2 separate regions of the Homo sapiens genome follow, and region 1 is linked to region 2. Evidence: promoter capture Hi-C in 16 types of primary human blood cells and fetal thymus (Javierre and others, 2016). All regions are on one chromosome and are shown on one strand. The core of a region is centred on a gene start or on the middle of the fragment in contact, and the rest is flanking DNA. Distances in the headings are between cores, read along the strand shown.

Region 1 (2,763 bases), core at 119-2,618, 530 kb after region 2:
CGTCGTCGGGGGTATTTTGTTACAGCAGCAAAAACAAACTAAGTCAGTCCTTTTCTTGGTACCAGGAGCTGCTCAAAGCTTTTGGTTTTTCAATTTTCACCCAGGAGGCACAGAGAAAACAGCTCAGCAGGTGCAGCAGAGGCCCCCCCATGGAGGACAAGCCTTGCGCTCTCGTGACTGAGGCCGCGGAAGGCACCATCTGCTCACTAAACCCAAGACCTCCAAAAACGCAGCGGGCCTGAAGGTGTGAACACGGCCACATGCACCTCTAGCTTGTCCTTAGGTTCTAGCCCATGATGTAACTGCTGGCCCCAAAGCTGCCTGCCTGTCTGAAGAACTCCTCAGGCTCTGGGTGACCCAGCTGCAGGGCCACATAGGAAGCTGTTTCTTTCTCTGCAGCAGCCTCGGTCTCTCCAGAGGCAGCTGAGCGCCTTCTCTACGTGGCAAAAGCTTTTCAAAGCCCTAAAAGCACACGCTTTTATAGAAACCAGCAGCTGCTTCCACACTCTGCTGGAACCATAACTGATGTGCATATTTTCAATGGTCATATTTTAATTTCAACTTTGAAACATAGCTTTGCCAATAAAAACAGAAAAAGTAGCTTCGCCAGTAAAAGCCGGGCATGGTGGCTTATGCCTGTAATCCCAGCACTTTGGGAGGCTGAGGTGGGTGGATTTCCTGAGGTCTAGAGTTCGAGACCAGCATGGCCAACATAGTGAAACCCCCTCTCTACTAAAAATACAAAAAATTAGCCAGGCATGGTGGCAGGCACCTGTAATCCCAGCTACTCAGGAGACTGAGGCAGAGAATCGCTTGAACCTGGGAGGCAGAGGTTGCAGTTAGCCGAGATGGCACCATTGCACTCCAGCCCGGGTGACAGAGCGAGACTCCATCTCGGGAAAAAAAAAAAAAAAGCAGAAAATCCTAAATGTTTTCCTAGGAAAACATGCACTGTTTCCAAGGGAAAGGCAGGGAAGGCAGTGCCCCTGCACCCTGCTCAGAGAGCAGCCCTCTGACACCTGGGGAAGCTGGTGTGAGCCTAGACTCAGAGCAGACAGCAGGGGGTGGCGGGGGGTTGAGGATGATCGCCGAACGGTCCCACTGATAAGCCCCGACATAGGAGCCCTGCAGGGTGAACACAGTTGCGCACGCAGACTGCACAACACACGCCAGGGACGCCGGACTAGAGCTGGGCTGCGCATACCGAGTCCGCCAGGTGCAAGCACAGCACAGCCGGGGTGCGGATGTGAGCGAGCGTGAGCATGCAGCGGTGCACATGAGTGGGAGTGTGCACATGAGTGGGAGTGTGCACCTGAGTGTGCACATAAGCGTGGGGGTGAGTGTGCATGGTGGGTATGTGTGTGTGCCCACCCAGAGTCAGGACTAATTGTCCGGTAACACACAATTATAAAAGTTGTAGAGGAAAATCAGAGCATTTCTTTTTGGCCCTGAGGTGGAGAGGAGCTTGACACAAACAGGAAGTGGCAAAGCCTGGGCCTGGTGGCGCACGCCTGCAATCCCAGCACTTTGGGAGGTGAGGCAGGAAGATGGCTTGAGCCCAGGAATTTGAGACCAACTTGGACAACATAGTAAGGCTCTGTCTCTTAAAAAATTGAGAATATTAGCTGGGCACAGGAGTGTGCACCTGTGGTCCCAGCTACTTAGGAGGCTGAGGTGGGAGGATCACCTGGGTCCAGGAGATGGAGACTGCAGTGAGCTGTGATTATACCACTACACTCCAGCCAGGGCAACAGAGAGAGAGACCCTGTCTCCAAAAAACAAAACAAAACCAGGAACTGACAGGTAACCCAGGCTGGGGGCCAAGTGTTCACCAAAGGTGCCACATATTCAGGTGATGCGGTGCAGGCAGGGGTAGGTGGGTGTGGGTGAAGACTGGTTGGCTGACAGGGAGAGGGGCACACAGACGGCAGATGAGGGACACAGAGAAAGGTGGGAGCCAGTTTTTGGGTGGGATGAGCAAAGAGCTGGAAAGAGGGAGAGCAGGCAGCCCTGGCCCCTCAGGAGTCTTGGCACTGTCCTCTGCAGCCGCGGTCAGGAGGGCTCTGGGTTTGCAGACGTGGCCCCTGAAGACACTGCCTGTCTCCTCAGGGGCTTTCCTGACATTTGATGAGGCCCTCTCCCCACAAACCTTTTTACCAGAAAGCGATGACTACGGTCACACTGAAGACACTCGTGAGCAAGCAGACCAAAGCGGCTGAATTTAAGGCAATGCACACTTCAGGGCGGGCAGGTATTACCTGGCCCCCACATGAAGCAAATAAACGAAAAGCTTTTATTTCAGGTGAGGTTGAGTCCCAGGAGCAGAATGGGGTGTGCAGCACCCACATCACTGTTCTGGCTCATTAACAAAGTCACTGAAGAAAACGGGGCAAGCCGGGAGTGGTGGCTCACGCCTGTAATCCCAGCACTTTGTGAGGCCAAGGCAGGCGGATTACCTGAGGCCAAGAGTTCAAGACCAGCCTGGCCAATATGGTGAAACCCCATCTCTACTAAAAATACAAAAATTAGCCAGGTGTGGTGGTGGGCGCCTACAATCCCAGACACTTGGGAAGCTGACGCAGGAGAATCTCTGGAATCTGGGAGGCAGAGGTTGCACTGAGCTGAGATCATGCCACTGCAGTCCAGCGTGGGCAACAAGAGCAAAACAGAAAGGGAAAGGGAAGAGGAAGGGGAAGGGGAAGGGGAAAGGGAAGGGGAAAGGGAAGGGGAAAGGGAAAGGGAAGGGGAAGGGGAAGGGGAAAG
Region 2 (2,700 bases), core at 175-2,674:
GAGGCTGCAGTAAACCGAGATCCCGCCACCGAACTCCAGCCTGGGCGACAAAGCTGAGCTCTGCCTTGAAAGAGGCAAAGAGAAGGAAGGGAGAAAAAGGAAGAAAGATGGGGAGCCACAGAAAGCGGCTTTGCTGTAGGGCTGGTTGTAGGGCTGCATTCACTAAGGCTCCATGGGTCTAAGGCCAACTCCGAGGATGGAGGTCAGCACAGCTGGCGTCCCCTGGGGCTGGAGGGCTGTGAGCCACCGGCACCCAGCTGGCTGCTTTCACGGGGAAGTTCGCTTGGTAAAAGCTCACTGTGTTTTTGCTTTTGTTCTTGCATAAACATCAGTTCAACACAAAATTTTCACAGAAAGAAAAACGCCTCCCTGACAATGCGACTGTCCACTTGACACCAGGGCCCCGCGCTGCCCATGGAATAGGGCCAGAGTCCTCCACTGGCGTTAAGGTTGCCGCCTGCCCGCTTCTCCCCCAGGTCCTCCAGGCGGACCCGCAGCCTGCAAGCCAGAGCCCCCGACTGACAGGACTCGTGGCCCGACCCCTGTGTCCCCCTCATCTTGCATCCCGCTCCCCCCGGCGGCCCCTCCCCTCCACGGCCCCTTCCTGCCTGCGGACCCTCCCCCACGCCCTCCTCCCCTGGCGTCTCCCCTCCCCCCATCTCCTCGGTATCCCCCTTCCCCCCCAAGCCTTGACCCCCCACATCCCCCACCTTGCCCCCCTCCTCTGGCGTCCCCTTCCTCCCTGCAGCCCCCCACCACCTCCGGCGTCCCCTCTTTCCCCACCCTCCCGCAGCCCCTCACTCCCCCGCTCCCTCCCCACCGCTTCTCCAGTGTCCCCCTCTCCCCACGGGCCCCTCATCACGCCCGCGGCCCCCACTCCCCGGTGGCCCCTCCTCCGAATACCCCTACCTCCGCGGCCTCTCACCCCCCCATGCCCCCCCCGCTCCATGCGCCGTTTCTCCCCCTCGGCCCCCCACGCGCCCCCGCGGCCCCTCCACCCCAGGTCCCCCTCCCCTCAGAGTTCCCCTGCTCCTCGCGGCCTCTCCCCTGGCATCCCCCTCCCCCTGCCCCCTCCCCCTTCTCCACGCGCCCTCTCTCCTCCGCAGCCCCCCACGTGCCCCCATGGCCCTCCCACCCAAGTCCCCCATCCCCCGGAGTTCCCTGACCCCCTTGCCGCTCCCCTCCCCTCTCCAGCCTGCGTTCGGGAAGCCCTGACCTTTGCCGAGGCAGGCGTCGCAGTACACGTGCCCGCAGTTGGTGAGGCTGAAGCACGACGTCCTGTGGGGCGGCTGGAAGCAGCGATTACAGAACACCCAGTTGGCCATGCCAGGCGGGCGACCGCAGCGGCGAGGCCGGGCCCACGCGAAGCCCACGCAAGGTTGGGACCAGCCTCCCCGCGCAGGGCCCGAAGGCGGGCAGCTCTGCGCCTGCGCAAAGTCGACGGCAGCCCTGCGCCCGCGCACTGGAGCTCGCGCCCTCCCGCCAACCTCGCGGGTTCTCCCGCAGCACCTGGGAGGGCGCGTGTGACTCGTCTCCCAGGTCGTTTGGGCTGGAGTAGGCGGAGGAACGCACCGCGAGCACCAACGTCCCGCCCCTGTCTTGGCGGTCCTCAGGTGTTTTGTGGAAGCCGGGCCTGGGTGGCGGGCGCGGGGAATGGCGGCTGCGCTGAGGAGGCGTCGCGGCGCGACAGCAGTGGGGGAGGGGGAGGGGGAGCGCCGAGGGCGGGGGATGCGGGCCAGGCCCACCTTGAGGGCCGGGAGCTGGGCCGGAGGCCAGGGCGGCCAGGGTAGTGCGCTGGGCGAGGCAGGGGAGGAGTAGGGGAGAGTGGGCGTGGGGGCCCTGGGGGCCCGGGGAGCGGGATAGGAGGGAGGGAGGGATAAGTGGGTGTGGGAGTTGGGGTGGGAGCGGGAGTGGGGATGTGGGAGTTGGGGTGGGTGTGGGGGCGTGAGGCGGTGGGGGTGGGGTGTGATGAGGCGGTGGGGGTGGGGGGGGCAGTTGGGGGTGGGGGCCAGGCCGCGCTGCACGCTTTGGGACTAGTGTCCAGGTGGCCGCTGGCGCAGAGACCTCAGCACGGGAGGCCTGAGCCTGCTTCCCTCTGAAACGGAAGGCGTAGCTCGGGAAGGACCTCTGCTGCTTCCAGGTTCCAGCATGGGGAAGTGACTTTTTATAAAATTGTCCTCTGCGTGGTTTTGAGAGTTTCCACCCGCTGGGACGCTGCAAAGCTCGGATCGAGAGGCTCAGGCAAGTGCTTGTGCCGGGAGAGCGCAGGGTGAGCGCTCCCGGTAGCTACGGGCCAAGTGACCCCTGCGCCCCGAAAGATGTGAGTAAAATACAGCTGTTTCCAGGGCCTCGTATGAAAACCTTCTTAGTAATTTTATATTGATTACATGTTAACATGATATTTTTGATATATTAGGTTAAATATATATCAGTAGCGTTGATTTTACCCTTTCAAAAAATCCTTTTCAATGTGGAGACTAGAAAACTTAGAATTACGTATGGGCTGGGTGCGGTAGCTCACGCCTGTAATCCCAGCTACTCCGGAGGCTGAGGCAGGAGAATCGCTTGAACGAGGCGGAGGTTGCAGTGAGCCGAAATCACACCACTGCACTCCAGCCTGGGCAACAGAGTGAGACTTCGTCTCAACAACAACAACAGCAAATTAGAATTATGTATGTAGCCCACTTTTATTTCTGTTAG

Evidence for each region. Contacts are between HindIII fragments. The CHiCAGO score rates a contact against its expected background, and 5 or more counts as called.
Region 1: a fragment that was not itself captured here is called in contact with the fragment with the promoter of RNF212 in region 2 in 1 of 17 cell types (erythroblasts); the score reaches 5.5 in erythroblasts.

What each region holds. Positions count from the first base shown.
Region 1 is chr4:1,646,439-1,649,201 of GRCh38, forward strand. All of the region lies in intron 4 of FAM53A (family with sequence similarity 53 member A), which reads right to left. Among named protein-coding and RNA genes, the nearest start is that of FAM53A, 36 kb to the right of the region's middle. RefSeq lists an enhancer at 780-1,281. The HindIII fragment of the contact is 1,840 bases long and covers 449-2,288 here.
Region 2 is chr4:1,112,140-1,114,839 of GRCh38, forward strand. RNF212 (ring finger protein 212) reads right to left here and starts at 1,425. Exons shown (of 10, transcript NM_001131034.4): 1 at 1,217-1,425. The coding sequence starts at 1,325. LOC124900647 (nascent polypeptide-associated complex subunit alpha, muscle-specific form-like) reads left to right here and starts at 1,500. Exons shown (of 3, transcript XM_047416477.1): 1 at 1,500-1,613. LOC105374344 (a long non-coding RNA gene) reads left to right here and starts at 1,500. Exons shown (of 3, transcript NR_134676.1): 1 at 1,500-1,613. The HindIII fragment of the contact is 6,439 bases long and covers 1-2,700 here.